Regions from separate parts of the Homo sapiens genome. Here regions 1, 2, 3, 4 and 6 are each linked to region 5. Evidence: promoter capture Hi-C in 16 types of primary human blood cells and fetal thymus (Javierre and others, 2016). All regions are on one chromosome and are shown on one strand. Each heading gives the region's core, a stretch centred on a gene start or on the middle of the fragment in contact. The rest is flanking DNA. Distances are from core to core; before and after follow the strand shown. Region 1 has its middle 30 kb from the start of TIPARP. Region 2 overlaps KCNAB1 (potassium voltage-gated channel subfamily A regulatory beta subunit 1). Region 3 overlaps KCNAB1 (potassium voltage-gated channel subfamily A regulatory beta subunit 1). Region 4 has its middle 27 kb from the start of SSR3. Region 5 holds the start of CCNL1 (cyclin L1). Region 6 has its middle 46 kb from the start of TIPARP.

Region 1 (2,923 bases), core at 396-2,895, 520 kb after region 5:
ATTTGTATCTGCCCTTTGAATAAAAACCAGTATCCAAAGTTTTCTGAAGCAATTCTGTGAGAACGGAAGGTGAATATAGCTCATTAATATAACTTTAAAATTACATTAAAGTGGGAAAAGAAACTGGAAAATATCACTAGCGTTAACGAAAAAGCTTAAAATCTGTGTTCTATAAAATGCTCATACAAAATGAGCTGAGGAAAGAGATGCCTCTTCCAAGAGGAACTAACCAGTAAACAAATACATGGAAAGGATTTCATCCTCACTAGTGGTAAAAGAAATGCAAATTAAAACAAAAATGAGGACTATTTTGTGTTTATTAAAGGGGCACACAACTCTTTCAATGTCACCACTTGATTATGAGTTGTTTTTTCAGTGAAATTATTATAATCTTAAAGTGTTGTTGATACTTCTTGTAGGAACTATGTGTAACATATAACAAGCTTGTATGGGTTAAATCATACTGTTTAAGCCTCTACTTTCCCGAAAATGAACCATGAGCTTGTCCCAGCATTCCAGTGGGGCTGCTGCAGTGGCTGGATACATTTCTGATGGAGAAATGTCTATCTCAAATGTAAAAGGTGGGAGGCTGTGGGTGGAACCTTCAGAGTTCCTTAGTCACTAGAAGAAATAAAAACCTCCTCATATCCAGGGTTTTGACCTTTGATCCTACCTCTTAGAATAGATTCTGAACAAGTAATTCGTAAGGGAAAAAAAGCCAAATAGACAAAGATTCGCTGCATTATTTCTTATAGAAAAGATTATGAAATGTATGTTGGACAACAGGAAAATAATGTAAAAGATGATGTAGCTATTAAAATGTAGATTACAAGGACTACACAGCAACATGGAACATGCTTCTGAAATTGTATTAATTGAAAATGGCAGAAGGCACCCACTGTGATTATCCACAATGGCTAGAAAAGATCAGGGCCAAACAAAAAGTTGGATTTGCTGAGGTGACAAGATTGTAGGCAAAAGTTTTCTTTCAGTTATTTAGATTTATTGTGTAATACAGACAGAATATTTATGTAATTAGAATTTTATTTTCAGAGTAAAAGAGAAATAGGATACTGTGACCCTTTCCTACTCTTATTGGAGGCTTCAGGATTTCACTATAATGCAAAGCTCCAAATCAAGCTCAGTTTTGGTATTTTCTGATAAATATTAGAAGCTCACTCCTAATTTGAAATGGTCAGCCTTTTTCATAGGATGGTTTATGTGTAGATAAGTAGCTCTTACATTAATCCAATTAACTTGGAAGATTGTAGGCAGGAATGTACACCAATCATAGTGTCCACTTGTTAAATTTTTTAAATTACAGGACAAAGCATAGGAGAAAATGGCATTTTAAAATTATGGTATTCACATTTAAAAAATACTCAATATATTTTTGTTTTCAACCATGTTTCAGGTGATGAATCTCTACATTTAAGGCAGTGGATTTAGCTGTAAATCTGAAACAAGAAGTGCACAATTTCACCTGTGTTTCCAGACTTCTGGATGCTCTTGTAGTGTTTTTATTGTACTTTTTTCAGATCAACAATTGGACCCATTGCATTATTTTTAGAGATGCTTCACCTGAAAGGCGGTCTGGAGGTTGAAGAAAAAAATATTCAGCATATTATTTGGAAATATAACTAAAATATTGTTTAAAACAAATTCATCCTATGTATCCTCACTATTTTGAACACACTGTCTTACCCTTAGCACTGTATCTATCTCATCAACAGCAAAAATAGAAAAGCCAGACATAGTCTTCTATACTGGGGGGATGGCAGAGCAGAGCAAGGGAGGAGGGGGAAAATAAACCATAACTTCTTGTGGCTGTTCTGGCTGAGGAAAGTTAGGTTTCAACAGCAGGCTTGAAATGAGTTATAGGCTCACTGATGGAGGGGGATGGGTTGAGGGGAGGAAACTATTTTCTGCTCTGGGCTCCCACACTCAACAGGGGAATGGGAAAAGAGTTATGTGCCCTCCAGTACCTCCGAGAACAGCTTTCTTAGTGTTCACCTACTGAGCTTGAGGCAAATTTTCAAGATAGATGATCTAGTTCCTCCTCTCTGTTTAGTGGCTGCCCCTACCCTCAGAGATAGCTGTGCGGAAACCGCATGAGTGTGTGTGTAAGTGCAGGCACGCATGTGTTTGCGTGGAAGGTGGGAGTGGTAGCAGAGGCAGGGGAATGAGGAAGGAGAGGAAAATCTCAGAGAGAATAATGAGGCTGTTGAGTGTGGGAGCCCAGTGCAGAAAATATTCTGGTGCTTGAGAGAGAACAGGAAGGAGTGTGTATTTGTGTATGTTTCTTTTCTTAGATCGTTTCATTCAGGAGGCATCTCCCTGGAGACTGAGGAAATTGTAGGAGTCCCCTGGGGTACTGTCAGCTCTACTTGCTGAGCTTCTGGAGAAAGAGTGAAATACTAGGTAAAGGAGATGCCTCCAGCCGGCTTCCAGGCAGAGGCAGTACTGAGAAGAAGGTGCAGGGAGGTGAGAGGGACCCCTGCCCTGAATAAATTGGAGATATTTCCAGATGTGCTCCCTCCCCACACTCAGCCTCGCTGTGCTAGCTCTCGTCAGGAAGGACAGTAGGATTGTACCATGACTCCCTGAAGCTCTAGGTTGGCAGGAGGGATGCTCCTCACGGTATGCGCTCACCTTCCTTGCTCTGGCCATAACCACTAAGCCTCCCAGCTTCAAATAAGAGCCATTCCTGTGACAACTGCTAAGTCCAGGGAGTGGTTGGAGGGCTGACACTTTCCCTCCTAGGGACTTCAGAAGCCCTGTGGTCTGCCAAAGACTGTCCCTGGCCCTCTGTCCATTCTCCCGAAAGGACTGCCTGCCAGAAGCTTAGAACCAGCAGCCACTAGGGCAGAGGAAGCCTGTGAGTTTGAAATGCCTCACCACACATTTGCAACAGCCTTCTTTG
Region 2 (2,869 bases), core at 171-2,670, 640 kb after region 5:
TAATTTAAAAAAGCTTTTGGTTGGGCACAGTGGCTCATGCCTGTAATCCCAGCACTTTAGGCGGCCAAGGCAGGCGGATCACGAGGTCAGGAGTTAGAGACCAGCCTGACCAACATGGTGAAACCCCTTCGCTACTAAAAATACAAAAATTAGCCAGGCTTGGTGGTGCACACCTGTAATCCCAGCTACTCAGGAGGCTGAGGCAGGAGAATCGCTTGAACCTGGGAGACGGAGGTTGCAGTGAGCCGAGATCGCGCCACTGCACTCCAGCCTGGGCGACAGAGCGAGACTGCGTCTCAAAACAAAAAACAAACAAACAAAAAAACCTTTGAACTTATTTGTAATAACATAGCTTAAAACACAAACACATTGTACAGCTGTACAAAAGTATTTTCTTTATATTGTTATAAGCTTTTTTTCTATTTTTAAAAAGTGTTTTTTTAGCTTTTTAAACTTTTTTTTTTTTGTTAAAAACTAAGACACAGACACACTCATTAGCCTTGGCCTACACAGGGTCAGGACCATCACTATGTTCCACCTCCACATCTTGTTCCTCTGGGAAGTCTTCAGGGGCAGTAAAACACATGGAGCTGTCATCTCCTGTGATAATAATTCCTCTTTGGGGAATACCTCCTGAAGGGCCTGCATAAGGCTGTTTTACAGTTAACTTTTTTTTTTTCCTAGTAAGAAGGAGTAACACTCTAAAGTAAAGATGAAAAGTATAGTATAGTAAATACATAAACCAGTAACATGGTCATTTATTATCATTATCAAGTATTATGTACTGTACATGATTGTGTGTGCTAGACTTTTATATTACTGGCAGTGCAGTAGGCTTGTTTATTATACCAGCATCACCACAAACACACAAGTAATTCATTGCACTCGGACCTTAGGATAACCACAACATCACTAGGCAATAGCAATTTTTCAGCTCCATTATAATCTTATGGGATCACCTACATATATGTTGTCCGTCGTTGACTGAGACACCCATGATTGAATGTGGTTCATATTATCTTTCTCTCAAACAGTGGATGTGGTTTGGGGTTTTCTTTTTTTTTTTTTTTTTTTTTTTTTTTTTTGAGATGGAGTCTTGCTCTGTCACGCAGGCTGGAGTGCAGTGACGCAATCTGGGCTTACTGCAAGCTCCGCCACTCGGGTTCACGCCATTCTCCTGCCTCAGCCTCCCAAGTAGCTGGGACTACAGGCACCCACCACCACGCCCGGCTAATTTTTGGTGTTTTTAGTAGAGACGGGGTTTCACTGTGTTAGCCAGGATGGTCTCGATCTCCTGACCTCATGATCCGCCCACCTTGGCCTCCCAAAGTGCTGGGATTACAGGCATGAGCCACCGTGCCCAGCCGCGTGTGGTTTTCAATTGTTACCAGCAATCATGACCTTTCATGGACTCCACAGCATTAGAAGAACAACGTTTATGGCCTTCAAGAACTTTCAGGGTGAAGCTATTTCTCTAGGATCAGCTTTTCATGTGGCAGTAGCCTTGGGCCTGTCACAGCCCTGTATCTCATCTTCTCACCAACCCTGGTTTAGTTTTCAACAGACAGAAATTTGAGCCAGAAGAAATGGATGTCACTACACAGTTCACCCCTGACATCTGTGATAGTGTATGTTATCACTGACATGTTCTCATTTAAACTATGTTATAAGAGCAAGGAGAAAGAAGTAAGAAAAATTTGCTATCATGTAGAAAATTCTGGGGAACCTCAAATAACTCACTTTATATTTAGCAGGAGTTTATGCTTCAGAGATCATCTGTCCCTGCAATAGACATTTTATCATGGTAAGGGTGTGGTCAGCAATAGAAAACTATGATCTCAGCAGAAGTCCCTCTACCACCCCATAGCTTAGTAATTTTCTTACCAACAGCTAGCTGAGGTAGTGTGCATCCCAGACGCTCCGCAATTGGGGAAAGGTCTTTTAGCTTGTTTTGCTGTTTTCTCCCTTCTTCACTTACAATTCTTTCTTTCAACCACTGGTAGCACTGGGGAAAAGCATAACATTGAAATGTTAATGTCTGGTAAAGATCTGATGTCAAAGAATGGTAATTCAATAAAATATGTGAACCTCATAATGATTTTCTGAATTTTTTGACCCTTATGTTTCACACTGACAGGGATGATTTCATGCAAAGAAATGTTCCTCACGATCTTGCTCCTTGTTTATTGGTTCAAAACAGATTGATTTTGACTAATATTCACCATTCAAATTGATCAGCCTGCACAGAAGTTGTTATAACCCTGACCGTGACATACAAGCACTTAAATCCTAGCCTGTCCAATAGAAGAAGTAACGTTTTTTATTGGGATAGCCCAACTTTAGAATGTAGCAAAAAAAAAAGTACATTTACAACTTACCAAGATCTATTATGTCTCCTTTTTATTAAGAAAGCTGGGTGCCAAGCTTTCTGCTCAAAGAAAACCACTATTTTACATTTTTGTTTAACTATTTTTCTCCCCCGTGCTTTCAATTCACTGCTAATCTCTTATTCTTTTTATAATGGGGCTTTGTTGTTAGCTTCTGCAGCTTCTTCCTAGAAGCAGACATGGCATAACTGATAGGTACTGAGTTGGTTTTTAAAATTTTAAAGTAGATAAAGACTTTGCAAATGTTATTACCTATTGTATAACTATTGAAACTTAAAAAAGTAAAGAAACTCAAAACAGGAAACTATTCTTTAAAGCCAATGAGAAGAAACTGACCCTGATCTATAGACTACAAAATGAACCTAATTTCCTAAATATAAAGATAAAAATCTTTTAGAACTTCTCAATGCCTTAGTTTCCAGAAGGCTCTGCTCTTACTATGAGAAAGGGAACAATAGACTCTTCTACATAAAGCGAGCACT
Region 3 (3,040 bases), core at 364-2,863, 650 kb after region 5:
TACATACTCCCTGTATCCCTAGCACACAGGTGGCTCCCTATAAATGCTGCAGGTCCACTTTGTTTCCCTGAGTACTCAATTTCCTTCTGTAAAGTGAGAAATGATATGGATGTTGTGAAATTCTTTCAAAGCTTGACGTGGGATAATGGGTGTAGAATAACTTGTGAATTTGAAACAGTAACACAAACTGAAAATGGCCCAGGTTTCTTCTCAAATAGGCCCAGATTCTAACATTTTGGGGACAGTTGTTTCAGTAATGTAGGCCATCAATGTTTTAAAAAATATGCATTTTATGTCAAAGAAATTAATACAACTATTTGTTCTGAGTGAAAACAATTTTGGTTGATCAATATTTTAATTTTCTAAATTGGATCACATGCCAAAAGTGGTAGCTCACATTAAACTTTTTTTCCTGCAAAATGTTCCCTAGAACTTTGAAAGTTGTAAGCAAATAGTTGTACTGCATGAACAATAAGCCATAGGGGTAAAGATAAAAATATGCTTATTAGAAATTAATGTTTTGATCAGATAAAATGTACTCAAATTAATCTGGCCACAGAGATAAAAGCAAAAGATAAAAAAGATAAAAGCAAAAGAAGCCTTAGAGGTAATCCAGTGCAGTTCCTTCTTATTCTAGATGAGGAAACAGGTTAGGAGTGAAGTTTTTAGGCATAATTAAAAGCTTGAATATTATTAACAATTATAAATATTTTAAATATGCTTGCAAAATACTGAGAAAAAACATGCAAAATAATTGTATTATTTAGTGGAATTACATGCAATTTTGTTCTTAATTTTTCACATTTCCAGTAAATATGTTATACTTTTATGTAAAAAAGAAGAATGATTATCTAACAAGCAAAGGCACCACTTTAGACACTAACATATTATATATTTAACCAAATAAAATTGCTATTTTTAGAGCCCCATAATAGTTTAATATTGACAGTATCCTATGGTTCAACCCAGCTGATATCAGATTTTTTTTTTTAAGAGGCAAGGATCAAGATGGAGGCTACAACACTGGTATAATGCAAGAATTTGGTTTCATCAGAGGAGTTGCTGTTAACACTAATAAAAAATAGGCCTAGACCTAGGCACAATTTTTACTTCAGGTCAGCTGTTTGTGATTTATCTACCTTAAGTTGTTTATTTATTTAACTTCAGAAGCTTGTGGTGGTGGTGGTTTATAACTGTACTGCTTTGAAGCTTAGAGGAATCATCTTGAATCTTGATCAGTCCTTCATATTCTGAGCTGCAGAGAATCCTCTCAGCTTGATGCCTGGAGATAGAGGACTATCATTCTTCAGAGGACTGGAAACTTATAATCATAAATGAAATGATGTCATCCTTAGTATGGATCATGAGTCACATATCTTAAAGGTTTGCTGAATGTCTGAGGACAGCCTGGTTCCATTTGCCTTACAGAGCATGTATTAGGATGCAGGAGACATTGTTTTTTTTTGGTCCCATCACAGTCACTAACCTTTGACATCTCTTGTCCTTGCTGAGATCTCAGTTTCTTCAATGCAAATGAGCAGATTGATATTAATTAAGCATATACTTAATCTTGACAGTAACTGTTTAGGTGGGAATATTTGAATCCCATTTTGTTGAGGAAGAACCTGAGACTCAGAAAGATAAAATCACTTGGGCCAGGTCTCAGCAGATAGTCTATAGACCCCATCTAGCTTTGAAGTTCTGTGATCTGTCATCGTGAGAGGTTCTTTGCATAATGCATTGATGGAGAAGATGGTTTGGGGAGAGAAAACTAACAGAGCATTTACTTAATTCACCTCATTGTGTGTTTGTGAACATGTGATGCCTTGTGTGGTTATATCCATCCATCCCTTTGCATTTAATACACAGATGGCTATAGTTCATGATGAGTATAAATGACTTGGGAAATATGAGCTTTCTTTTTGTTTTTTTTCGAAGAAAAACTAAAATCTGATGACTCTTTGAAAAGAGAGGCAAAAAAAGGGCTGGTGTCTGCATCTGATCTGTCAAAGCTTAAAGAAAGAGTGGTCTTCACAGGGCAGTTTATAGGGAATATGCTTTCTGGATCAGGGCACTGGCCAAACTGATTCTGAATCAGAACAGAACAGATTCAAGAGACTAGAAAGGAATTCATGCACTGAGCCAAGTCAATAAAACCTCTTCTATCTGGAGAAATTGAACCTTCTTCAAAACTCCGACCCAAGAATGGAGCTTTATGTCTCTGAAGGCAATGCATTTTCCTCCACCCTGTAGCTACCCTGAGAGAACCCTCCCTAAAGAGCACATGGTCCTCAACCTCTCCTCTCTGCCACACACTGGTTTTCCCTGACTCTAGACAGTTTGAAGTGAGCCTTTGATATTGCCCAAATATGATTTCAGAACCTTATTCTAAAATGTGAAATAGGTTATTGAAATGGGACACTTTTAGTCTCACTTTTAGCTCAAGTCCAAAGGCTCTGAACAGCAACTGTTGTTTTTAAGTACCCCTGAGTTCCAAAGTGAAGCACTAGACCACCTATGCAGGAGACCATGGTGAAAAATGTTTGGTCATCTTTAGCCCAGCCTTCACCTTGAAAAAATAAATGAGTTAAAAAGAGAAGCCCTTTTAGAACTGATCAATAAATTCATTAAGGTTGCAGGACACAAAATCAACATACGAGAATCAGTACCATTTCTATACGATAACAACAAACTAGCTGAAAAATAAATCATGAAAGCAATATCATTTACAATAGCCACAAAAAATTAAATACCAAGTGATATGGTTTGGATGTTTGTCCTCTCCAAATCTCATGTAGAAATGTGATTCACAATGTTGGAGGTGGGTCCAGGTGGGAAGTGATTGGATCATCAAGTGGATCCCTCATGAATGGTTTGGCATCATCTCCTTGGTGATAAGAGTTCTCACTCACTCAGTTCACATGAGAGCTGGTTGTTTAAAAGAGTCTGGGATCTCCCTTTTCTCTCTCTCTTACTCCCTCTAGCCTTGTAATACACTCCCTCTCCCCCTCTTAGCCTTCCACCATGATTATAAGCTCCC
Region 4 (2,874 bases), core at 63-2,562, 580 kb after region 5:
GCCCTTAACAACAAATTTGTTGTTGTGGAGGTTTGGTGGAAGACTGGGAAATTGGCTCATTCAAAATGACTCAACCTTCTGTTTGTCATGAAAAAGACTACATTTCTCAGTTTCCCTTGCATCTAGATTCTTCACATGACCGAGCTTCTGCCAAGCAGAGATTTGGAAGATGAAAGCAACTACTATGAGCTGGTGGCCACAGGTTCTTCTGGTGGCCGGAAGGGCAGTAGAGGTGCTCAGTTCTCTAGGGACAGTGATTGCAGGAGTTCTCAAATTCTGGTGGAGTATTGAAGTGGCTAAGTGGCAGGCAGTGGCTGGCCATGGGGTTTCTGCATCATTGTGGATGTTTCTCCTGACTGCTCACAGTCCGAGTAATACCCAAGCTTGGCTCCCCAGCTTCCCAGAAATTCTGTAAGCTAACTTGGATCTTGTAATAGTCCTGTTCTGCTTAAACTAGCTGGAGTGTATCACAATATGACATGGTATGAGCTGTGCTAGAGGTAAGCTTCAAGCACTATAAGCACGTGTGGGATTCTAAAACTCTGAGTGGGGGCAAGTATAGAATCCTCATAGGCTTCTTAGAGCAGGTGATAGCTGCAATATGAGCTGAAGTATGAGTTGGAATTAGCGAGGTAGAGGCAGAAAGACTAGGAAGGCTTAGAGAAAGAAGGAACAACATGTGCAAAGGTGGAGCCCAGAAGTTACAGAACTCTAATTAGTTCAGAATATCCCTAACACAGGATGAGAGGTACAGAGTGATGAAAAAGGAGGCTGTAGCAGTGGCAGGGGTAATTCACAGATGGCCATGCATGCCAATTTGTAGAATGCAACTGTTGTTTTTCTTGTCTGCTCAGCACCTTGGCTGCTTCTGCTCTAATCTTCTGCTCCCCTCTTTCCACTCCAATACACACACATTTCCTTTGGGAAACTACTGCTTCTCCACTCCAACAGGTGATTCTGATGAGCCTGTCAATCATGGTACCCTCATCTCTGATGACAGGAAAGGGCTCTTGTTCTAGGTCTGACCACTCCTGGTAGCCATTCCTATGAGTATGGTGATTGGTCTAAGGTGGGGCTGTGTGTCAATTCTGACCTGTCAGAGTCTCCCTGGGGGATTTTTAAAATTTAGGACTGGCTCACAGATTTGTGAATTCTGGTAGCCATTATCTGCCATAATCCTCCCTTAATCTCTAAGGAGAAAGTCTGTCTGTGATGGAAGAGACTTATGTAAAGTAGAAAAAAGTAACAATGAGAAATGGAAGAGGAGATATGAGAGACAGAGAGTTAGTTTTAGCAAGGACAAGTCTCAGAATCTAGGCCCTGACATGGCTACCCTAGTTCCTGTAGCCCTTATGTCATGCTGATCAAAGCCTGACCAACATACCTATTTATAATCAAGTTACTCATAGAATTTGTTTATGCATATTTTAGTAAACATTTCTCCTCCTCTTTTCCCTCTTGTTCATTTTTGGTTATTGTATAATATTCTATTGAATTTAAATATCTTTATCTAACTATTAGGTTATTTCCTGTATGTCAAACATTGTTGGTTTGGATTTGGACAGAAGATGAGGAGAGAGGATGTGGCATAGTGTTTGTGAGCTTCAGCGAATGGCATAGAAAAAGGAATGGAGGGGAGAAAGTACACAGCATGTTTAAGGATTAACAAATAATCCTGTTCGGCTGGAGTTGAAGAATGGTGGGAACAGAAATAGCTGTAAAAATACAGTCTCTGCTGCATAGTGTACTAATGATAGGGTAACTGAACATGAAAAAAGGTGTGCAAATTTGTACTATATTTATTGCTAAAAAAAAAATAAGGAAGTTGTCATGGACAAAATCATGGGGCAGCCACATGGAAACTCCAGCATGCTGTTCTAAGAGCTACAAATTACAAGTGTTGGAAAGAATTACTATAACTATAATAATCTGACTCAGCATTGTGAGGACTTCTTTTCGTTCATTCAGTTGATTTTCTGTAGTTTGAAGGAGTTCTTAAATTCTGGTGCTACTGTCAAAGTGGCGAAGTGGCACGCAGTGGCTGGTCATGGGGTTTCTGCAGGATGTTGGATGTTTCTCCCGGTTAGGTTGTTCACAGTCCAGGTAATACCCAAGCTTGGTTCAAAACTACAGAAAATCTACTGAATGCGCTAAAGGAAGATTTGAGAAAATGAAGAATAGTTGACCAGGTGAAAAGACTAAATTTTATACAACTGTCAATTATTAAATTGATAGATTTGGTTGCAGTGTGTGTAGAAGGGTGTGGGTGGGGTGCTTTTTCCCTACTCCTCTGGTTTTCATGAGGAGAGATGTTGTGAGAATATAATCTGTCATAAAGTAGGCATCAAAATCTACGAGTTAAATCATTATTTAGTAAATGATACTGAAACAATTGAATACATGTTTAGGAAATAAATCAGAATAGATCCTCATTTTATAGTTAACATCGTACCAAATCCAATATGGAGTAAAAAGAACATAACAAATCAAATTTAAAATACCAAGATGAAAAAATATATGCCTTTGTAGTAGTTGTAAGTGAGAGGAAGTAAAAAGGGATCGGGGGTAGTTTCTGAACTTGAAAGTGTTGGAAGAAATGTAAAAAAGAAAAAAATAGTGCACTTGACCACACAAACATTATAAATTTCTATAAGTGTTTTAGTCTTTTAATTAAAACATTCTCAATAAACTTAGAATAACTTTTGCATCAATATGAAAAACAGCTTATTATGTAAAATGCTCATGCATATGAATTGAAATCAGCAAAAACATAATTTCTAAACATCTACCCCAGGCCAGGTCTGTGCTGGATACTTTGCAAACATTCAGTTAAAAAAACACTTCAAGGTGGATGTGTCCAGTCAACCCAGGTAG
Region 5 (3,207 bases), core at 85-2,584:
TTTTATATCTTTTTTTCATAGGGGAAAGGGTAGATGAGAAATGTAGACATTTATTTTGAGGAGCAGCAAATGATTATTAGGAACAATGAATGGACAGAAATTAGTAAATAATTTTCTTTTGAGTAATCTTGTGAAAAAGTCCCTCCAGGAATGGCTGCATTTCTGAGTCTTTTTGAAATAGGATACGAGATTTCAGCGAGGGGAGGAATGCGATTGATTCTTCTACAAAGAGGCTTCTCTAGTCAGGAAAGGAAATTTCAGAGAGTACCTCCCTGCACTTGGGAAAAGTGGGAGCAACAAGTCAAGGTTGGGGGACCTGCATTATGAGGCAGCTTCTAAAGCCTCTGTCTTTGGGGTATCGCTTTCTGAGCGTCAAGAGTAAAACGTGATGCATTCCTTTCCTTCCAACCTAGATTCTAGTAGTTTAGATCAGTATCATTGTTTTTACTTCAAGGTTCAGGAAACGCTGGAAATTGCTAGCTAATATCACAGGAAAAAAAACAAAAAACACGAGGTTGACCTCACCCTACCCGCGGTAGGTAACCATGTATGAATAGAGACTCCCAGGCATAATCAAATTACCTCTGTCAAGTCCTCGCCCTAAGACTATTTTTGGAAACTAGGGATTTTCCAGATTACTGAAAGCCGTGGCGGTGTCAAAGGCCGGGCAGGAGTTTCGCAAGCGGAGCTATGAAAGCAGCCACTCTCGCGGTCATTCCTATGCCTCCGCCCTACTTCCCCATACTGGCAAAAACACGCTCCCCGGGGAGCTTTCATTTGGGAACCGATAGGGTCCACAGCCCTGTGTTCTTCAAATACTGTAAAGCAGCCCTCTCCAGATTCCTTGAGGGTCACTTTATATTACACATTCGTCCACACAGGACAACAAAGTCACCACTTCCACCCGCCAAAGCGCGCTCAGGTCGGCCGCCACTTCCCTTGGTACACGCGGAACGCAAGCCGCGCCGAGGCTAAAGGAAGAGGCCGGAATGCAGGGCGAAGGGGCGCAGAGATGCTAGCCAATGCTGCCACCTCTATTTTGGGTATAAGGGATCTTGTAAAGCTCCGTTATTCGTGTGGCTATCACAAACAAGGTGGTTTCGACCGGCCTTGGCTAGAGAAGGCCTCCTCAGCCTCTGAGGATCCCAAGGTCTGTCGCAGCACCCAACACTCCCCTCGCAGGCCCAGATGCCGAGGGCGGAGGCGCGGCCTGGAGGGACTAGTTGGCGCGCGGCTGCCCGGCGTGGTGACGTCAGGGCGGAAGCGCACGCGGCGTGAAGCGGCCCAGAACCCGGCGGTCACGGGAATATCCGTCGCGCCGAGAACGCTGGTTAGTCTTGTTTCGGGTTCCGGCTGCGTTGGGCTTGCGTGCGGCTCGCTAAGACTATGGCGTCCGGGCCTCATTCGACAGCTACTGCTGCCGCAGCCGCCTCATCGGCCGCCCCAAGCGCGGGCGGCTCCAGCTCCGGGACGACGACCACGACGACGACCACGACGGGAGGGATCCTGATCGGCGATCGCCTGTACTCGGAAGTTTCACTTACCATCGACCACTCTCTGATTCCGGAGGAGAGGCTCTCGCCCACCCCATCCATGCAGGATGGGCTCGACCTGCCCAGTGAGACGGACTTACGCATCCTGGGCTGCGAGCTCATCCAGGCCGCCGGCATTCTCCTCCGGCTGCCGCAGGTCAGTGCTCCGGCCCCGGGCCGGCCGGGCGCTCCTCTCCTCTCCTCCGTCCCCTACGCCGCATCTCAGTATCACCGTGCCCCGGGAGGGTGGGGACGGTTCCTTCAGGCTTTCCCGTTCGGGGCCCAGCCGCGGCCGGGGCGTGCCGGGGCGGGGGGCTGCGGAGGCGGAGGGAGGACTTGGCAGCGGGCTGTTCGCAGCGGCGGCGGCGGCGGGAGGGGAAAGGGAAGCGATCGGCGGCACAAAATGGCGGCGGCGCCTGGAGCGGGCCCGCCTGACCCCTGCGCTTCCGTTCTCCTCTCTTGTCTGCAGGTGGCGATGGCAACGGGGCAGGTGTTGTTTCATCGTTTTTTCTACTCCAAATCTTTCGTCAAACACAGTTTCGAGGTAAGCACAGCGGAGGCGGGTAAAAGGGATTTCTTCATCCGGAAATGGGCAGAGTAGGGGTAGTGTCAGCAGCCAGCTTTTCCAGAAAGGGAGTGGTTTAGTTTAGGCCTTTGTACCTACTTCTCACTCGCCAGGAAGTGGAAACCTTTAGAATGTGGTTCAAAATCGATCACGAGCCTAAGTGCCCTCTTAACGAAAAGTACAGTTTTCAACCAAATGCAGAACTCCTGTAAGATTGAGTTTGACTCTGGAACCAAAATTAAGATGAGTTAAACAACAAAAAGTATAGTACTAGCATAGCTGGTAGACTTACGGCATAGAGATGTCTTCTCTAATTTTACTAAAGGTTGTCCCAATTGTGTTCTAAATTTTATTCTTCAAAGTGAGTTTAATCTAACAATGGCTTTTGTGGCTCATGGGTTCTTTCAGATTGTTGCTATGGCTTGTATTAATCTTGCATCAAAAATCGAAGAAGCACCTAGAAGAATAAGAGATGTGATTAATGTATTCCACCACCTCCGCCAGTTAAGAGGAAAAAGGTAAGATTGGCATTATTGAACATAGTATCTCTTGCTACTGCTGTACCGTGCACCAGTCATCAAATCAAAACATCTTTCCTTTCAAGTGAATACGGATGCAAAAGAAAACGGACTTTAATTTAGGTGTTAAAGTTCATATAGGAACACTGATACTTAAAATAATTTGAAAAAAGAAACATAATTAACCGGTTATCTAAAGTTTGTAGAGGCAGTTGCATTTATGGACAATCCTAACAGTGCTGTGAAGCCAGGCCTGTGGCTTAAGATTAAACAAGAAAGGGAGTACATTTGGCTCAAGTGTGAGTGTATTCTGTAAGTTATTTTTCCTCTCCCCTCTCTGGAAGACTGAAGGCTGGAAGTTTAAACACTGTAGTTTAAGTTAATATTGTGGCAAAGTTCTGTGTAGATTATGTTTTTCTACTCGAAGTCCCAGTTAATTCTTTATCAATTGAGGTTGGCTTTTGTTAGAGTACTTCTCAACATTGAACTACGATAAATCGAATAATACCGGATCTGAAAGGACTGCAGGATGATAAAGTTTGAAGTTTGAAGTCAAAGGGATTAAACAGGTATTTTGTTTTGGTTAGATACA
Region 6 (3,066 bases), core at 562-3,061, 530 kb after region 5:
GAATATCACAATTAGAAGATGACCTTCCCTGAAATTTAGTGTTACTAGCTCCATGTAAAAGTATTGGGTTCAGCTCTGAGTTTTCTCCATGTAAAAGGTACTTGGAAATTTGACTCTGTATAAAGATTTTGTTCAGCTGCAAGCAACATAAATTTCTACTAACAATGGCTTAAACAAGTAGGGTTTTTCTTATAACTAGAAGTCTGAGGGTAGGTTACTGCTAGTATTGGGCAGCATCGCTGTGATTTTCTTGGACTTTCCACAAGTGTGTTTTGCTCATGATCCCAAAATGGCAGCTGAGGCTTCAGGGACTACCTACCCCCAAGACTGTAAGGAAAGAAGAAGCAGAAGTGCATGATGTGTGTTCCCTTGTACCAAGAAAGCAAAAATTTTCCCAGAAACCACGTTTTCTCAGTAGAACTCTGCTGGGTGGCATTGGCTTGAACTGGGTCACACAGCCACCTGTTGTTGAAGGAAGGCTGGGAAATCAGGGAACAGGCTTATCATAATGGACTTAGACTAGTGCTACTCAAACTCTAGCAAGCATTGAAATCCCCTGGAGGGCTTGTTAAAACACTGATTGCTGGGCTCCACCCCCCAGAGATGCTGATTCAGTAGGCCTGGGTTTGGACCTAAGAATTTGTATTATTTAAATATCTCAGTTGATGCGGATGCTTCCGGACTTTAAAAAACACTTTGAGAGTCACTGACCTCCACCAATGGCTCTCAACCCTGGTGGTGCATTAAAAACATTTGGAGAGCATTTTTAAAGATACCGTTTCCTGGTCCCACCCCCAGATGTTCTGATTTAATTTGTTGGTGGAGTCCAGGCTTCCGTATAGTCAAAGCTCTCCAGGTGATTCTAATGGTAGCAGAACTGGAAACCACAGTTTTAGGCCAGTCATGATTTCTTATCTGGGACTATTATCAAGGTTCTATTAGCAAACAGAAGGAGAAGTGGGTAATAGGCTGCAGCAGGTTCAGATAGTGGTTTCTGAACTTGATGCACTTTTGAAGCACTTGAGAATCTTTTTAAAAAATCTCCACTTTAGTACATACTCCAGACACTTAAATCAGAATCTCTGGGGGTGGGACACAGGCATCAGTAGTTTTTGAAGCTCCTCAGATGATTCTAATGTGCAAACAAGTCTGGGAACCCCTAGGTTAAAAGAAGATTGCTGCAAAGCTGATTATATTTGAAAACTATTTAAAAGGAAGGTGTGAAGGGATGTTATTAGTATTTGGATTGTAAAAGAGAAACCTGAAGATTAATGTAATTATGTAAGTACCAAGATAATTTTATAAAAGAATGGTGTTGTCCCTCTGAAGAACAGCGAGGAGGAAATGGGATCAACCTGGTCAGAATCCTTGGGTTAGATGTAAAAAGAAATTTCCTAGCTGCAAATTGTTGCAATGAAATGTGGTATGGTAGGAATGTGGTTGTGCAATCCTGTCATTGAAGAGCTATAAAAATAGTATAGATTCTCACCTGTTTAGAATGTTTTAATGTCATTCTTTCTGAAGGTGAAGAGGTGAATGAAATGACCTATCTAGCTTTCGTCTTTGAGAATTTCCTCTTTTACTCCTCTTCTCATTTCACATCTCAACTTAAAAGGCAGACCTCTGCATTAGCAATTCAAAGAAAACATAACCTTTGCCCACCTATCTGCTTGAATGGATAAAATATCTGACAGCTAGTAATAGGTTGAGATGCCACTAGCTCAAACTGCTTAGATCTCTAAAAGGCTATTTTGAGCTTCCGGATGACAAATATACTGCCAAATAGAGAGGGCCTTCCACATTTGATTTGAATAGGTTCCTGTGTTTAAAATGTAAATGCTGTACTTAAGGATGATTCACTACTGTGTCTGGGTCCTGCTACATGCGTGCACACACAGAAAACCAAAATAGCTATTTTCATGCCACATACAAATAACATGTGTATAAATATAGCTACAACTAAAATGTGTTCTTTGTACATGAAAATGTCACTGGCTTTTGTGAGTAGGACATATCGTCTGAGTTGTCTTTGTCTTTTGCGATACCGATAATGAATCTTCCCTGGTCACATGTAACTTTATTACCAGTAACATTCACTAGTTCAACTGCTGAGATGTCAATGGCACAGGAAAAAATAGGAGCCCATCAATGGAGCAAAACAACACTCAGTGGATCTTATCCACACTACTTGTATCTTAGGTTGAAGATCCTGTGATAGAGTTAAGGAAAAGATTTAGGAGTGTTTCCCCCCCTTTAGTCCAAACTTTTCCTGCAAATCAGAATCATTATGGGGGGCTTTTAAATACCCTAATGTCTAGGTTCTATTTCATACCAACTAAGTCAGAATGATTGGGTGTGGAAGTCAGGCATCATTAGTTTGTAAGATCCCAGTTGATTCTAATGTGCAGCAGAGTTTGAGAGCCACTGCCTTAGCCACCTTCATTATGAGATCTAAAAACCTCTTATAGAAAGAATTTCTCTTAGGTCTCATGGTCAAATGTAGATATAAGGATTAGGTAAATTTTCCTCCCTGCTGAGTGTGACAGAGATTAATTATTCTTGAAGGTTTATTCCTCCTAATTCCTCCATCATAAGAGAATGTCTAATTTTTAGCTGCCTACGTAGCCACACAGAATAAAGACCACTTTTCCCAGCCTTCCTTGCAGGAGGGCATGGCTGTATGTTTCAATTCTGACCCATGGGATTAAGTGGAAGTGGTGCATATTCCTGACAATCATTAAAGAGAAGGTATGTATTCTTCCACCCTTCCACCTTCTTGCTAGCTAGAATGCAGATGTAGATGAAGCTCCAACAGGCAATTGGTCACTGAGATGACTTTAGAAGAATGGAAGCCACACAAAACAAAGAAAGTAAAAGGAGTCTTGTTCCCCACACCAAGCTCGATACCAGCTCTAGAATGACTATTCTGGGCTTCTTAATGGGGGAGAAAAAGAAACTAGTTTATAGCACTATTTCTGTTCATTATAGCTGAACCTTATTCTAACAGACTCAATGGTTCTCAAAATTTGGTATATATCAGAAATATCTACAAAGTGAATGAAGCAT

What was found. The method cuts DNA at HindIII sites, captures the fragments that hold promoters and counts their contacts. A CHiCAGO score of 5 or more calls a contact.
Region 1: a contact is called between a fragment that was not itself captured here and the fragment with the promoter of CCNL1 in region 5, in 2 of 17 cell types (M2 macrophages and fetal thymus). The highest score is 8.3, in M2 macrophages.
Region 2: a fragment that was not itself captured here is called in contact with the fragment with the promoter of CCNL1 in region 5 in 7 of 17 cell types (total CD8 T cells, naive CD4 T cells, total CD4 T cells and 4 more); the score reaches 13.2 in total CD8 T cells.
Region 3: a fragment that was not itself captured here is called in contact with the fragment with the promoter of CCNL1 in region 5 in 2 of 17 cell types (total CD8 T cells and non-activated CD4 T cells); the score reaches 7.8 in total CD8 T cells.
Region 4: a contact is called between a fragment that was not itself captured here and the fragment with the promoter of CCNL1 in region 5, in 3 of 17 cell types (M2 macrophages, M0 macrophages and M1 macrophages). The highest score is 10.0, in M2 macrophages.
Region 6: a fragment that was not itself captured here is called in contact with the fragment with the promoter of CCNL1 in region 5 in 1 of 17 cell types (M2 macrophages); the score reaches 5.4 in M2 macrophages.

The regions. Positions count from the first base shown.
Region 1 is chr3:156,643,188-156,646,110 of GRCh38, reverse strand. No RefSeq gene overlaps it. Among named protein-coding and RNA genes, the nearest start is that of TIPARP, 30 kb to the left of the region's middle. The HindIII fragment of the contact is 2,400 bases long and covers 446-2,845 here.
Region 2 is chr3:156,522,963-156,525,831 of GRCh38, reverse strand. It overlaps KCNAB1 (potassium voltage-gated channel subfamily A regulatory beta subunit 1), which reads right to left. Exons shown (of 14, transcript NM_172160.3): 12 at 1,885-2,005. Among named protein-coding and RNA genes, the nearest start is that of SSR3, 31 kb to the left of the region's middle. The HindIII fragment of the contact is 2,013 bases long and covers 414-2,426 here.
Region 3 is chr3:156,505,777-156,508,816 of GRCh38, reverse strand. The region is part of intron 8 of KCNAB1 (potassium voltage-gated channel subfamily A regulatory beta subunit 1); the gene reads right to left. Among named protein-coding and RNA genes, the nearest start is that of SSR3, 48 kb to the left of the region's middle. The HindIII fragment of the contact is 803 bases long and covers 1,212-2,014 here.
Region 4 is chr3:156,580,250-156,583,123 of GRCh38, reverse strand. No RefSeq gene overlaps it. Among named protein-coding and RNA genes, the nearest start is that of SSR3, 27 kb to the right of the region's middle. The HindIII fragment of the contact is 1,610 bases long and covers 508-2,117 here.
Region 5 is chr3:157,158,274-157,161,480 of GRCh38, reverse strand. It overlaps CCNL1 (cyclin L1), which reads left to right and starts at 1,334. Exons shown (of 11, transcript NM_020307.4): 1 at 1,334-1,689; 2 at 2,002-2,076; 3 at 2,506-2,615. The coding sequence starts at 1,387. RefSeq lists enhancers at 473-532, 553-602, 690-1,419, 2,053-2,122 and a silencer at 1,703-1,912. The HindIII fragment of the contact is 11,903 bases long and covers 1-3,207 here.
Region 6 is chr3:156,626,865-156,629,930 of GRCh38, reverse strand. No RefSeq gene overlaps it. Among named protein-coding and RNA genes, the nearest start is that of TIPARP, 46 kb to the left of the region's middle. The HindIII fragment of the contact is 3,731 bases long and covers 1-3,066 here.